Regions from separate parts of the Homo sapiens genome. Here regions 2, 3, 4 and 5 are each linked to region 1. The links are contacts of gene promoters, found by promoter capture Hi-C in blood cells and fetal thymus (Javierre and others, 2016). All regions are on one chromosome and are shown on one strand. Each heading gives the region's core, a stretch centred on a gene start or on the middle of the fragment in contact. The rest is flanking DNA. Distances are from core to core; before and after follow the strand shown. Region 1 holds the start of PCDHGA7 (protocadherin gamma subfamily A, 7). Region 2 holds the start of PCDHB7 (protocadherin beta 7). Region 3 overlaps DIAPH1 (diaphanous related formin 1). Region 4 overlaps DIAPH1 (diaphanous related formin 1). Region 5 holds the start of LOC124901091 (a long non-coding RNA gene).

Evidence for each region. Contacts are between HindIII fragments. The CHiCAGO score rates a contact against its expected background, and 5 or more counts as called.
Region 2: a contact is called between the fragment with the promoter of PCDHB7 here and the fragment with the promoter of PCDHGA7 in region 1, in 8 of 17 cell types (M1 macrophages, M0 macrophages, erythroblasts and 5 more). The highest score is 10.3, in M1 macrophages.
Region 3: a fragment that was not itself captured here is called in contact with the fragment with the promoter of PCDHGA7 in region 1 in 1 of 17 cell types (endothelial precursors); the score reaches 6.1 in endothelial precursors.
Region 4: a contact is called between a fragment that was not itself captured here and the fragment with the promoter of PCDHGA7 in region 1, in 2 of 17 cell types (endothelial precursors and M2 macrophages). The highest score is 5.8, in endothelial precursors.
Region 5: a fragment that was not itself captured here is called in contact with the fragment with the promoter of PCDHGA7 in region 1 in 1 of 17 cell types (total CD8 T cells); the score reaches 6.4 in total CD8 T cells.

What each region holds. Positions count from the first base shown.
Region 1 is chr5:141,381,231-141,384,153 of GRCh38, reverse strand. PCDHGA7 (protocadherin gamma subfamily A, 7) reads right to left here and starts at 1,412. Exons shown (of 4, transcript NM_018920.4): 1 at 1-1,412. The coding sequence starts at 1,254. The region is part of intron 1 of PCDHGA1 (protocadherin gamma subfamily A, 1); the gene reads right to left. The region is part of intron 1 of PCDHGA2 (protocadherin gamma subfamily A, 2); the gene reads right to left. All of the region lies in intron 1 of PCDHGA3 (protocadherin gamma subfamily A, 3), which reads right to left. It also overlaps PCDHGB1, PCDHGA4, PCDHGB2, PCDHGA5, PCDHGB3 and PCDHGA6, and 1 more gene. The HindIII fragment of the contact is 6,225 bases long and covers 1-2,923 here.
Region 2 is chr5:141,171,172-141,174,094 of GRCh38, reverse strand. PCDHB7 (protocadherin beta 7) reads right to left here and starts at 1,451. Exons shown (of 1, transcript NM_018940.4): 1 at 1-1,451. The coding sequence starts at 1,259. It also overlaps PCDHB@. The HindIII fragment of the contact is 10,030 bases long and covers 1-2,923 here.
Region 3 is chr5:141,575,003-141,577,925 of GRCh38, reverse strand. DIAPH1 (diaphanous related formin 1) reads left to right here. Exons shown (of 28, transcript NM_005219.5): 12 at 335-451; 13 at 1,055-1,170; 14 at 1,632-1,696; 15 at 2,780-2,923. Among named protein-coding and RNA genes, the nearest start is that of DIAPH1-AS1, 18 kb to the right of the region's middle. The HindIII fragment of the contact is 2,674 bases long and covers 183-2,856 here.
Region 4 is chr5:141,532,429-141,535,351 of GRCh38, reverse strand. DIAPH1 (diaphanous related formin 1) reads left to right here. Exons shown (of 28, transcript NM_005219.5): 19 at 919-1,017. Among named protein-coding and RNA genes, the nearest start is that of DIAPH1-AS1, 24 kb to the left of the region's middle. The HindIII fragment of the contact is 6,140 bases long and covers 1-2,923 here.
Region 5 is chr5:141,515,760-141,518,682 of GRCh38, reverse strand. It overlaps DIAPH1 (diaphanous related formin 1), which reads left to right. Exons shown (of 28, transcript NM_005219.5): 28 at 1,675-2,923. The coding sequence ends at 1,832. LOC124901091 (a long non-coding RNA gene) reads right to left here and starts at 1,675. Exons shown (of 2, transcript XR_007058971.1): 1 at 1,035-1,675. RefSeq lists enhancers at 1,394-2,019, 2,020-2,645. The HindIII fragment of the contact is 2,622 bases long and covers 197-2,818 here.

The DNA of each region.
Region 1 (2,923 bases), core at 163-2,662:
ATACAAAGAGAGTGTTTCCCGGTCCAAGTTTTTGGTTGTGACCAATCTATAATAATTATCTATTGATTTTTCTAATTTAAAAGGTAGGTTTTCTGGAATGGTGCAGGTCACCTCACCATTCTTTCCAGAATCTCTGTCTTGTAGGTAGAAAAGAGCAATGACTGTCCCAAGAGGTGTGTCTTCAGGGATTGAGCTACTTAAAGACGTCATAGTCACTTCTGGAGCATTATCATTTACATCTAAAACTGTGATCAGTACTTTTGCCTTTGTCAGACTACCAGGACCATCTTGAGCCTGAACCTCCATTTCATAGAAGGCAGTTTCTTCATAATCTAATCCTTCTAAAGTTGATATTTCTCCTGTAAGCGAGTTCAGATGAAACATCTTTGGAAGTTTAGGAGTTATTTTCCGAAAAGAATATGTCACTTCCCCATTGACTCCCTCGTCCAGGTCGATAGCATGTACCGTGAGCAGTCTTGTACCCACTGGCACATTCTCGGGGACAGTTACTTGGTACTGAGGCAGAGAGAAGACAGGCGTGTGGTCATTCACATCCACCACTGTCACCTGGATGTGGGCGGTGCTGGATCGGGGCGGGTCGCCGCCATCAGAGGCTGTGAGGACCAGGTGGTGAACCCGCTCTTCCTCCCGGTCCAGCACCCGCTCCAGCACCAGTTCCGGGTACTTAGTTTCATCGTCTCCACTTTGCACAGCCAGGGAGAAGTGGCGATTGGGGCTGAGCTGGTAACTCTGGAGGGAGTTCGTGCCCACATCTGGATCCCCAGCCTCGCTTAACGGAAACCGAACCCCAGGAGCTGTATTCTCCATTATTTTTACATTTATTTCTTCCGTCAAGAATCTTGGAACGTTGTCATTAATATCTATTATTTCCACGTCTATAGGGTAAAGATTCATTTTATCTTCCATCAGGATGTTAAAGTTTACCAGACACCGCGCACTCTGAGCGCAGATCTCTTCCCGGTCTATCCTGCCCGCAGTGACCAAGCTGCCGCTGCGCTGGTTCAGGGCGAAAAGCTGCGTCCTACCTCTGGAGATGATGCGGACTCCGCGCTCCGCCAGCTCCCGGGGCTCCAGCCCCAGGTCCTTGGCGATGTCTCCCACAAAGGACCCTTTGTCCGTCTCCTCCGACACGGAGTAGAGAATACGTCCTGCCCAGGCTTCCCAGGGGGTCCCCAGGAGGATGGAGAGCAGGAAGAATCCTCTGTAGTCCCCGCCCCTCGGCTGAGCCGCCATAGTCGTCCTGCTTCTCTTGCTTAGGCGCCGATCTCGGGAAGTGCTTCAGAATGCGGGTGTATCCGGGTGGACCCCTCTGTCTTAGGAAGGGGAGCTCAGAATCCAGCAGGATAGAGGCTTGAGTTTAGTGCAGCCTGGAAGAGGGCTTATCGCAATCTGTCGTTTCTCTGTGCTGTAAAACTCGGTGGTTTCTGTGGGATCTCTCGCACCATTTTTCCCTGGTTGGTGAACAGCGGCGCTGTGAGTCCTTACTAAGTTACTGCACCACATTGATGCACACAATACACTGATTTCATAGAAAATTGTTTCATCTTTCAAAATTTCCCTGTTAGATTTCTTTGCTCTAGATATCCCTGATAATTAAAAATCCATTTTAAGACACTGAATTAATGCAACAGTGTTCATGGACCGGTGTTTGATAATCTTAGATAATTTTTAAAAAACTGCTTTGCCTTGCAACTTTCAAGTGACTCTTTTGGGCACTGACTCACACGTTATTGCACATGGGAAAATCAGTTATTGAAGGCAAAAAGGTAAATTTTATTTAAATACATATGAAAGATTTTACTTAGAAAATATTTACATCAGTGTATATAAATTTTAATTAATTCAGTATTAATTGAACACATATGTTCTAGACACCATGATGCAAGATTCAGAAAGTCAAAATTGTTGTAAAATATATAGACCTATTTTAATAAATTTTTGATTGTATAGAACCTTAGAGACGGTCTAACACCTTCATTTTAACCGTTTAAAAAATGAGAGGGGGGGCCAGGTGCTGTTGCTCACGCCTGTAATCCCACACTTTGTGAGGCCGAGGCGGGCGGATCACCTGAGGTCGGGAGCTTGAGACCAGCCTGACCAACATGGAGAAACCCCGTCTCTACTAAAAATACAAAATTATCCGGGCGTGGTGGCGCGCGCCTGTAATCCCAGCTACTCAGGAGGCTGAGGCAGGAAAATCGCTTGAACCCGGGAGGTGGAGGTTGTGGTGAGCCGAGATCACACCATTGCACTCCAGCCTGGACAACAAGAGCAAAACTCTGCCAAAAAAAAAAAAAAAAAAAAAAGAAGAAGAAAGAAAGAAAGAAAGAAAGAGGGAATTGCCTTGCCTTGTTCCTGATTATTGATTATATAGTAGTAGAACAATGTCGGAATCCAAATATTCTCACTCCCAGTCTTGTGAGAAAAAAAGAAAGAAATCGTTGTTTGTCTTGGCTGCAGCAATCAGCTATAGAAGCAACCCATTTTCTACAGAAGGCAGAAATCTGCAGAGATCCTACTGGGCTGTGAATTCATAAGAAACTGGATAATGGATTGGCTGATTCTTTTCATTATGCAATTCAATTCAAGTCTTCATCCTAGTATGCAATTCAAATCTTCATCCTACTCTATTCTAGTGTAATTGAGAAAACAGGGATCTCTAGACAGCATTTGAGCAAAATGCAGGACTGTCCTGACAGGATCCTTAGAGGTACTCGTCTCTCCACTGATGTTGATAGAGTAAAACTAAATTATTGATGGATCCGAGGCTACCCTCTGCTAGCAGAAAGAAAAGAAAGCTCCTTTCACATAGTTGCAGAATAAAAGAGAATGACCTGCTCTGGAATAAAGACCTGGCAAGAAACAGTCTTGGTTTGTAAATTCTTCTAGGTCCTGGAGAGTA
Region 2 (2,923 bases), core at 202-2,701, 210 kb after region 1:
GTGATGTTGTACTCAGTGTTCCTCTCTCGATCCAAAGGTTTCTCTGTTACCAGAGTATAGAAGTTTTCGACAGATGGCTTCAGGATGAAGGGGACATCGTCCTGGATGGAGCACACTGTCTTTCCATTGTTCCCGGAATCTCTGTCTCTAATCCTAAAAACAGCCACGACTGTCTCGGGTGAGTTTTCTGCAATTGGGCTAGTAAGTGAAGACAGGAGCAGCTCGGGTCGATTATCGTTTATATCTGTTACATCAACCACTACAGTGCATTTTCCAGAAAGCCCGCCGCCGTCTTTGGCCTGAATAGTTAATGTGTAAGTTTGAATTGCCTCATAGTCCAATTGCGCTTTAAGATGAAGACTGCCAGATGTTGGATTGATTTGAAACGTTTTGAGAATTCTTTCAGTGGCGTAAGAAAATGCATAGGCTATTTCCCCATTACTTCCGGTATCTAAATCTCTGGCTGACACGGAGACAACCATGGAACCAACGGGGCTATTTTCGGGCACCTGCACCTTGTAGAGCGACCGCACAAAATCAGGGGCGTTGTCATTTACGTCTAGAACCAGAATGCGCACGAGGGCGGTCCCTGATCTTGGAGGAGAGCCGCCGTCTAAAGCGGTGAGGGTTAAACTGAACTCTGGTATCTCTTCCCGATCCAGCACTTGATTCAGCACCAATTCGGGATAGATATTCCCCTCCCCGCTATCATGGACATTAATATGGAAATAGGCATTGGGGCTGATGGTGTAGTTACTCAGGCTGTTGGTTCCAACATCTGAATCCTGTGCACTCTCTAGGAGAAATGCCGCCCCTGGAGTGGTACTTTCTAATATTTTCAAGGAAATCTCTCTGTCTAGAAATACTGGAGCGTGATCATTGATGTCTCTGACCCATAGTTCAGCACGGAAAATCTGAAAAGGTTTTTCCAATAACAACTGGAAAGGCAGCACACAGGGCTCTCTGGGGCCACACAGTTCCTCTCGGTCCAATTTCTCATTTAGAAGTAGATCACCAGTAAGCGAACTGAGCAGTAAAATTTGCATGTTCTGGTCTGAAACAATTCTAGTTCCCCGGGCTCTCAGTTCCCCTACCCCTAACCCTAGGTCTTTTGCCAAGTTGGTAAGAAAGGTGCCTCTCTCGGTTTCCTCCGCCACAAAATACCGAAGCGGTTCGGCGCCAGCCCAAGACATTCCCAGAAATACACAAAGAAATAAGACTTGCCTTTTCTGCACAGCACGCTCCACTCTGGCCTCCATTCTTCTTTGGATCAGTCTTTCAAAATGACTTTCACTCAGCCTCCAGCGGCTCTCACAAATGGCAGCAGCGGAATCCTTTGAAATGAGCTGAATAATAGCAATGTTTGTGGGGAAGGATCCTCATTTTACCCCAATTCCTATTACCACTGTTTCCTTTCCTATGCTTTTCTCTTCAGATTGCCTCTTTGCTCTGGAATCTGTAACATCCTTTCTTTGTGAAATTATTTTTCTCTCTCTCTTTTTAGCCAGCAGCGCCACCTTGCGTTTTGTGGATGTTATTCCCGTTATCAAGACTAGAACAAAAAGATGGCGGATTGAAGGAATTCTGCAACAAGAATGATTTGTCCCCGGTATCTTTGCTGTTTCATTCCATCTTTATCCTCAAATGGTCACAGTAATGCTAGTAAGTAATAGCTGATGTCGTTTTCCCCTGTGATAATCTGGATTCGTAGAAGAATTAATTTATAGTCTTCTTAAATCTAGGAGCATGAAACTAAACTCTGACTCCCCACCGAAATCCTAAGAAAATCTCCTATTTTAAAAATGGATAGTAAAAATATATATGAGAAAATGAAACCTCCTCCTTGAAGTCAACAAATATTGGTTGGGGACATTTTATTTATTTGTAAAGTATTTAACAATAATAATGTGAATATGGCAGAATAATTGACCCTTTTCCCAATTTCTTGTGAATTAAACAATTATTCCACTTTCCAGGTCTTAACTCTTTACCTGTGATATTTCTTGGAACACTTTATGCCTCCCCCAAACCCAACCTTCATCCTTCACCTGATTTAAGTATTACATAAGAAATTATTGTTCCTCTATAATTTCAGTGACTAGAATCTCCAATGTCCAATGAATACTCTTAAAATTAGTAGTAGCAAGTTGGTCAATCTTGCATTTGTGGAAGTGCTTCTAGCATTTCATCTTCAACTATGATGGTTGATCTCAATTTGGGGTAAATATTCCTTTTTTGAATCAATAAAGTTTTCTTTTTATTCTTTCATATTTTGAAGTGATTTTTGATAGCTGTTGAAATAATACATTTATTCTTTAGTTTCTAAATTACTGAGTTATTGATATAAATGACATTTAACCATAATGTATTATTGTTTTAGTGCACAGATAGATATGATGTGTCAACATGGTTTTAGGATTTTTCTAGTTAATGTTGTTTACCTAGTGCGTGTTTGCCTTTTATGGCCTTGGTATTAAACTATTATACTGGCATCATAGAATGTGTTAGGGAGCTTTTTATCTATTTTATACAATAGTTTTAATAATTATATTATTATATGTTTCTACATGCTTAATTCCAGCTTGTCTTTTAAACTGGTTGGGTTTGGTGACTTCACTTGCAGTAGATCAGTGACTACCATTTACATTTTACCTTTGGTTATTAATCTGTTCAGGTTTTGTATTTTTAAGTAACTTGCATTTTATTTTGAAAATCATTTTATCTAGTTTGCAAATTTCTTGGAATTGTTTTCATTGCGTTATTTACCTTTAATTGTATCCCTATTTTTATTAGTGATGTTTAGCATTTTAACTCCTTTTTATTCTTGGTGAGACTTGCAAGAGCTCTACTTTACTGATATTTTGAAATGCATTTTTTTCAAAATAATATATGACCTTGGTCCAAAATTAAATAGCACTAAGAG
Region 3 (2,923 bases), core at 270-2,769, 190 kb before region 1:
TGTTTGGACTGACAGAGGGAGTAATTTAGTTACCTGTTAATATTTTCAGTAAGTGACTTTGAGGCAGTTACCTCTTATTTTCTGTCTACTGCCTGATCTTCAAGCCAAGTACTTACTAGGAATCCTCTGTGTGTATAGTACCACCCAATTCACTGGTCCCTTAAAGGACGTTTTAGAAAGCTTAAAGTTTCTGGTGATGTTTACAGGAAGAACAGCCAGTAGAATGGAAGTGGTGTCTTGCTACTTTTCCCTAGCTTTTTCAAGAGTTAAATAAGCCACCTGTCAAACATAATTTCTGCATATTTGCTTTCCTTAGCCTATTTCCCTTTTCCACTGACTTTAATGAAGTCTTTCAGATTCTCTTAAACACAGTGAAGGATTCAAAGGCAGAGCCACACTTCCTTTCCATCCTGCAGCACTTACTCTTGGTCCGAAATGACTATGAGGCCAGGTAAGATGCTGTGCTTATGAGAAGTTTTGAATTTGAGCCTAAGTGGAGAGAGTGAATTCCTTAAATTCAAAGATTGTTCTGTAAAAGGAAAATGTAAAGACAAAGACCCAAGATTAGGGTTCATTAGTCACCGATATAAAGGAAGTTGTCTTATTTCTTTAATCCAACTCAAAGGCATCCCTATGGCAGAGGTCAGAGTGTATAAGGTGAAATGCCGTTCTGTTTTTGGAGGGGAGTAGGTAAATAGGATGAAGATGTTAGCAAACAGAAGTGGCAATTTAAAATTCTTTCTAGTTTCCTGGAAGTATAGATTTAGCAATAGCACTATCCATCACAGGAAGGATCAAACGCAAATTTTTAGATGGGAAAGTATTGGCACTAGGAGCGGATGGCAAGAAGTTTTGATTATTTGAAGTAGATAGGGTAGGGTAGCTGATGTGGAAAAAGGAGTTTTCTTAGCATGGCAGCAATACTTGTGTTAACTTTACAAAAGTTTTTCCAGGTCTCTCAGTTGTCAGAGCAATTACGTTTTCTTGGTCCTGAATACTTCTGAAAATTATATTTTGATTTTCCTTTGATGACCCTGTTTTTATTCTCTTGTAGACCTCAGTACTATAAGTTGATTGAAGAATGTATTTCCCAGATAGTTCTGCACAAGAACGGGGCTGATCCTGACTTCAAGTGCCGGCACCTCCAGATTGAGATTGAGGGATTAATTGGTAAGCATACTCTTCTATCTGGCTCCTCCAAGTATTGCTTCTTCCTTTCATTTTGCATCTTGTTTCAGTGAAAATGTCAGAGAAGATACCTTTCCAGTCCCCAGATAGTTCTATTTTTGTCCTTTCTTAGGTCATAACCAGCATCTTTGCTAGGAATCTATAGGTCTTTAGTTTATTTTTAGATAAAACACACACCAGCACCTTTTGCAGGAACTCCTGGTGGTCTCAGAGAGTCAAAAATATCACTCATAGGCATTCTTCTTGCCACCCAGCATGGTGGCCTTACCGCACACTCAGATTACATGTTGAACTTAACTGAAAGTTCCATTTCTTTGTCTAGTGCAGAACATTAAGAAAGATAATAAAAATGATCAAAAAGACTGTTCTTTGGAAGGGTGTAGTGTGAAAGAAATAGAACAAGAGAATTAGGAGCTTTACTTACTGACTCTTCTTCTTTTCAGATCAAATGATTGATAAGACAAAGGTGGAGAAATCTGAAGCCAAAGCTGCAGAGCTGGAAAAGAAGGTGCATATGAGAGACCAAAGACATGTGTTTGAGTATATCTTTCTTTGAGAATTATTATTTTCCTGATCTATGAGACAGTTTTCCTCTGTGGTATTTTGGAAGCGTTTAGCACCCAATAGTGTAGTTCCCAGGGGAAACCTTTCCAGTATAGGGTAGTCATTGGAGAAAGTGATATGGATGTCTTCATAGGGAGCTCTAGTGGTGGACTTTCAGTTCTTGGGCTACTGGGCAGGAAAAGAAAGACAGATGATACTCATGTAATAGTAATGGCACTCTCAGGTTTGCTTGGCATTTTAGGCCTCTTACCCCTAGAACAATAGGAACTGGGGTCCTTAGAGCAATAGAACTAGAGGATGTCTGAGTTCTCTTTTTCTCTTCAGTTTTTAAGAACGTTTATTGTGGTTAATAGGTTTTTGATCCTAGAGAATATTGGGATTGTACTACCATGGTCGTCCTCGTTAAATACCTTTAAAATCTTATTTTTTTTAACTATAAAAATAGGGAATCTGTGGAAATGAACTGATTCCCCTCTCCTTTAACCTTGTTTTATTTTCATTTTTATTTTTATTTGTTTTTTTTTTGAGACGGAGTCTCACTCTGTCATCCAGGCTGGAGTGCAGTGGCGCGATCTCGGCTCACTGCAACCTCTGTCTCCTGGGTTCAAGCAGTTCTCCTGCCTCAGCCTCCCAAGTAGCTGGGATTACAGGTGCCCACCACCATGCCCGGCTAATTTTTGTATTTTTGGTAGAGGCTAGGGTTCACCATGTTGGACAGGTTGGTCTCGAACTTCTGACCTCAGGTGATCCACCTGCCTCGGCCTCCCGAAGTGCTGGGATTACAGGTGTGAGCCACTCCGCCCAGCCAAACCTTGATTTTAAGGTCAGAATCATGGTGCTTTTTTCCCCCGAGCATGGCCTGGATTTATGAGCTCTGTAAATCAAGTACTGGCCCAGAACAGGAGGCAGTGGGGGGATTCCAGCACCCCCAGGCAAAAGAGGAGGTAGGGAGAATTATGGGTAATAATACTTGTGCTTCTTACTGAGATGGAGAGCTTGCTGGGAGCCTGATTCGTTTTTTCTCTAGTTGGACTCAGAGTTAACAGCCCGACATGAGCTACAGGTGGAAATGAAAAAGATGGAAAGTGACTTTGAGCAGAAGCTTCAAGATCTTCAGGGAGAAAAAGATGCACTGCATTCTGAAAAGCAGCAAATTGCCACAGAGAAACAG
Region 4 (2,923 bases), core at 199-2,698, 150 kb before region 1:
CTGAAAAGAATGCAGAAGGCAGAAGTATATTTTACCTCAATCATAGGCAGTTGAGAAAACAAAATTTTTTTAGAGAAAGTCATGTTCAAGATGGAGCTTAAGGTAGGGCAACAGTGGCTCATGCCTGTACTCCTAGCAGTTTGGGAGGCTGAGGCAGGCAGATTGCTTGATCCCAGGAGTTTGAGGCCAGCCTGGGCAATATGGTGAAACCTCATCTCCACAAAAAATAAAAAAATTAGCCGGGCGTGGTGGCCTGCACCTGTAGTCCCAGCTCCTTGGGACCCTGAAGTGGGAGAATTATCTGAGCCCAAGAGGTCAAGGCTGCAAGTGAGCCATGATTGCGCCACTGCAGTCCAACCTGGGTGACACAGTGAGATGCTGTCTCAAAAAACAAACAAAAAAGATGGAGCTTGAAAGATAAGTTGGATTTTTAAATAGGCACAAAAGGAAGGATAACATGGTGGAAGGGGACTGCTGAACTACTACTAACCAACTGTTCTTGTGAATCAAGTTTTAATGGAACACAACCATGCCCATTCATTTATGTATTGTCTGTGCCTGCTTTCATGCTACAGTGGCAGAGTTGAATAATTGAGACCATATGGCCTGCAAAGCCTAAAATAGTTACTATCTGGTCCTTTACAGGCAGCTTGCTGATCCCTGCAAGTAGATAGGATGTAGGTAGGAAAGCATTACTGATAAATATTGAAGAAATGAAAATGAGATATTTATTAGAGTTGGGGGAGGTTCAGTAATAAAAGGGTGGTTGGTTGAAGAGGAGGTTAGTTTTGAAGGAATACAATAGACCATTATAATAGAGAGGAAGTGAGGGGCCATTTCACGCTGGACAGTAGTTGCTTGGTAAAGCACAGAGGTGGCTTACTTTTAATCATGCTTTTCTAATCTTTTCCCTGCTAGCCAAGAAGGATCAAGAAGGTGGAGAAGAAAAGAAATCTGTGCAAAAGAAAAAAGTAAAAGAGTTAAAGGTGTTGGATTCAAAGACAGCCCAGAATCTCTGTGAGTATCTCTTGGTCCCAACTATTCAAAATGTGAAGGAATTCTTTTAAGAATTTTTAATTCTCTTGAATCTATGGTCCCTTGATATGGAACTTTAATTGTTCAATTCCTGCTATATACCAACCATTGCACAGTGAATTTTCAGTATCATGTTTAATTTCTTCAATAGCACTGCAAGATTTTTAAGTATCCAGTTTTATGTCAAGGAAACAAGCTAAGACTTTTAGGAATTTGCTTAGACATAAAGCTAGTAAGAAGGAGGTCTGGGATTTGAGCCTTTTTTTTTTTTTTTTTTTTTTTTGAGACACAGTCTCACCACTCTGTTGCCCATGCTGGGGTGTAATAATGCGATCACAGCTCACTGCCACCTCAGCTTCCTGGGCTCAGTTGATTCTTCCACCCCAGCCTCCCAAGTAGCTGAGACTACAGGTGTGCACCACCATGCTCAGCTAATTTTTTGTAGAGATGGGGTTTTGCCATGTTGCTCAGGCTGGTCTCAAACTCCTGGGCTCAGGTGATCTGCCCAGCTGTGTCTCTGACTTTCTTATTTAAAAGTTCTTACTATGTCCATTGCGTTCACAGAAAGTCTACCACAGATGGTCTAGCCACTGGACATTTCCTTGCTCCCACTTTTGCTTTTTTATTAAATAAATAGAGAAGGGGTCTCGCTATGTTGCCCAGGCTGGTCTTAAGCTCCTGGCCTCAAGTGATCTGCCCACCTCAGCCTCACAATATGTTGGGATTACAGATGTAAGCTACCATGCCCAGCTTTCACTTTCTGATAAGTAAAGGTACTAGCTTGGCTTCAATTAAATTTAAAATTACTTTGTGATTTAAAATAACTAAGGTAAATTTTGTACTTCTCAGAGTAGGATCAGTAACTCCAGAGAAGGGTTCTGTTCTGAAGTTTCCACGTATACTCGTAACTCTTTGGTAGCAAAATTTCAAATGAGAAATTCCTCTGCAAAGTTGATATAGGTAGTACTTATTTGATGATCAGGACAAATGTTAAATTTTTGTTCTTTTTAATTACTCATCTACCTACTTCATACCAAGAAATATAGACTTAAATATTTATTTGACAAATATTTCAGGGTCTGCTATGTTATAGGCTCTATTAGGCATGTGTTCCAGAGATGAAAGGGTATTTTCCGTAAAACCCACTCATAGTCTTGTGATGCAGTTATTGTCCCTGTTTATCCAAATGAGAAAACCAAAGTTTAAATGATGCGAAGTGCCCAGATCACACAGCCAATAAGTACACATACCCATAAGTAAAGTCAGTGATACAATGAGACCAGTAAACTGTCACATTATTCTTGATTATATAATCTTAAATTATTGTCAATAACTATTACTACATAGTGTCTGTGGTGAAGTCTTATGGAGATTAAAGTATTGTGAGTCAGTTCCTCTTCCCAAGAGTATCTCTAGGAACATAAGACATGAGTAATTGGTTTAAAAAATGATACAAGAAAGACAATGGTGTAGTACATTATGATTTCTAGTGTTATGATATTGATATGGAAAACAGAATTTAAGAAAAGAAAATTGAGAGTAGTATAGGATAGGATGGTCTGGAAGATGGAATTTAGTGATTAAATGTCTCTCATGTGCTAATGATACAAAGCTGAATAAGACAATAGTCCCTGTCTGCATGAGCCACGTATTTGGTAAAGACAGAAAGGCAGATGATAACAGTGCAGATTAATAAATGCTATGATGGAGGTATGCTAGAATGTTTATGAGAGTACTAGGAAGGGAGGGATCTAAATCAAGTGGGGGCAGTGTTGGAGGGGCAAATCCCAGAAGATATTCTAAAGGAGGTACTACTTAAACTGAGTTGAAAGACCAATTAAGGAATTAAGGAGGCTGGGCATGGTGGCACATTCCTGTAATCCCAGCA
Region 5 (2,923 bases), core at 258-2,757, 130 kb before region 1:
GATATGGTGGCACATGCTTATAGTCCCAGCTACTAGGGAGGCTGAGGTGGGTGGATCACTTGAGCCTGGGAGGTTGAGGCTACGGTGAGCTGTGATTGCGCTGCTGCACTCCAGCCTGGGCGACTGAGATTCCATCAAAAAAAAAAAAAAAAAGACGGGCTATCTGATCCTGTTTGGCTTCTGCCTACCTAAAGCTTTTTGCTGGTCCAAAAAGGCGCTTCATTCCAGTCATGCAGCTGCCCCAGTCTTGGTCTTTATTTAGGAGTGCTCGGCTCTTTCATCTGGTCCTGCTTCTAAAACATTCCGGTACTGCTTTCTCCACTCCAGCTTTCCCAGATCTCCAGGAAGTCTTTTTTTTTTTTTTTTTTTTCCAATTGAGCTATCATTTACATACCTAAAATTCACCTTTTAAAAATGTATAATTCAGGGGTTTTAGAATATCCACAAGATTGTATAACCATTACTATCTAATTCCAGGACGTTTCATCATCCCCAGAAGAAAAACTTCATAATCCCCATTAGCAGTCACTACTGATTCTCCCCTCCCCTTGCCTCTGGCAACCACCAGTCTATTTTCTATCTCTGGGTTTGCCTGTGCTGGACATTTCGCAGAAGCTGACCCATAACATATGGCCTTTCGTGTCAGGCTTCTTTCGTCCCAGACAGCTGTTTGTGTATACACAGTTGCTCTGTGCTGTTCTGGGGCATGGGAGGAGGAAACATCATGAGATGGGCATGGTCTCAAGGAGTGGCCTTCCTGCTGCAGATACTGGGGCCATAAGCCTAGATACCATAAATGAATATGAGAGTCTTGGGGATGAAACCCAGCAGTTAGAACAGAAACTCGTGGATTGATTTGGTTCTTCTTTTCTAATCTGGTATGACAGCCGGAACTTGACCATCTCTTAGCCACCTGGGCTGAGATTTCTTGGTAGGGGTCCTCTCCTGTCCATCTTTATCCCAGTTCTGCTTCCCTGGCATAGTTTTTATTACTACCTCCCCCCCGCCATGCCACCCCCACATACTCTACACACCTTGTAGGGCCCTTGGCATTTGTATTACGGCTGCTACCTTTGAAGGGGTGGGAAAGAGCTAAGGCATGTGGGCATCTGTTGTTGGAGGAACACGTGGGAGTGCGGTGTCAGTGCGTGGCTGCTGTTCCTCTTTGCGGGAGTCTCTCCAGCCACTTACGGAAGGTTGCCTTCTGCTAGGGACAACCCTCCCAGGGCTGACTGAGAAGTGTTTTGGCCTAGGAGTTTCCTGGGACCTGTCAAGAAAACAAAAATAATACTATGTACTAAACTTTAGTCTATTTAATTCCAACATCCCTATTACGAGAAAATAGACTTTGAATACTTCATCTCTCCTTAAGTCACATAGCTAACACTTCAGCCCAGTTCTGTCTGTCTGTGTTCAAACTTTTGTGCTGTTTTCACACAGGGAAGCAAGGGGGCAAGGCTTGCTTTCCTGTTGCACCACACTCTCTTACATTCTTTGCCACCCAACAATATATTCCACATGCTGGATCTCTGCCCCTTTCTTCAAAGTAAGGGCCTCTGTGAAGTGGCCAAGGTAGTCATGTCTGCATGGCTTACGCTGATTATCTGCTGTAGAGTTTGAAAGAAATTAGAAATGAGGCCTTCCATAGACAGAATCTCTCGTCTTCTCTTGCAGCCAACAGGAAGGCCGGGTGTGCAGTCACATCTCTGCTAGCTTCGGAGCTGACCAAGGATGATGCCATGGCTGCTGTTCCTGCCAAGGTGTCCAAGAACAGTGAGACATTCCCCACAATCCTTGAGGAAGCCAAGGAGTTGGTTGGCCGTGCAAGCTAATGTGGGTCCTGTGACCGCGGCAGCTCCTCAGCGGAGCCGCAGACTGTCCTGCCCTGCAGCATGTGCCTAAAGGCTCAAGGGGATATTCCTCTGGGGTGGCCACTCCCACCACCCTGACCCTGTCTTTCTCTCTGGCCTGCTGCTCTCTCAACATCACATACAGCTTCAGCTGCCTGGAGGCCAGAAGGAAAGGGCAGTGCAGGGGAGGCCTGAGCCCGACTTAGCCAGCCCTGGCTGTTGTATTACCAAAGCAGGGTCCATGTTTGCTGCCTTAACCCTGTCTCCTCTCTGTTACTCAGAGGGCCTCATCTCAGACAAGGCCCAGCCTGCTTTTTCTCAGCCCTGACTTTCTAATGGGCTTTCCCCCCTAGGTCAGTCTTGCTGGATTTGTGCTTTTCTTTTGTGGTTTCTCTGGCCCTGAGAATAGCATGGGGCTTGTAAACCTTTGGGCTAGATCCCTCCTTTCATTGCTGTTGTCTCTGCTCTTCCCTCTCCTGGCTGTGGTTATTTATTATTAGTGGTGTGGCACTGGGAGCTGCTCCTAAGGAAGCAGGGAGCAAATCCCACCTTTACCCCACCTTCCTGGGAAAGGCCTCCAAAGCAAAGGATCTGGACCAGTTTCCCTGCTGTGCTGTGGCCCAGGCCAGAGCCTGTGGGCAGGCAGGCAGGGCATAGCGACAGTGTGGGACCTGCCCCCAGCTTCTGCCACGCTTTATGCCCTTGCCTCTCTGGACGCTCTGCACCAACCCCAGGCTACTGAGCCACCTTCCCTCCTCATGCCTTCCCTGAGCTTTGGTGCATCTCATCTGGACTATGGGTTGTACTGTGACCATCCCAACACCTCACCCTCTGTCTACAAGGAAATGGGAGGTGGAGCCTCCTGGCTGAGAAATTGTTTTGCAAATGGATCTATTTTTGTATGAAAAAAAAAATTTTTTTAAAGAAAACTGTTCCTTCCCCCTTTCCCCTCCATAATGTAAGAAGCTTTGGTGGCAGGTTACAGAGTTCTGGGATTTCTTCTCACAGGCCCAATCCTGAATGTGCCCCTGGACCTTCTGGACCCTTGAGTCCAAGGCAGATCCTCTCTCCCA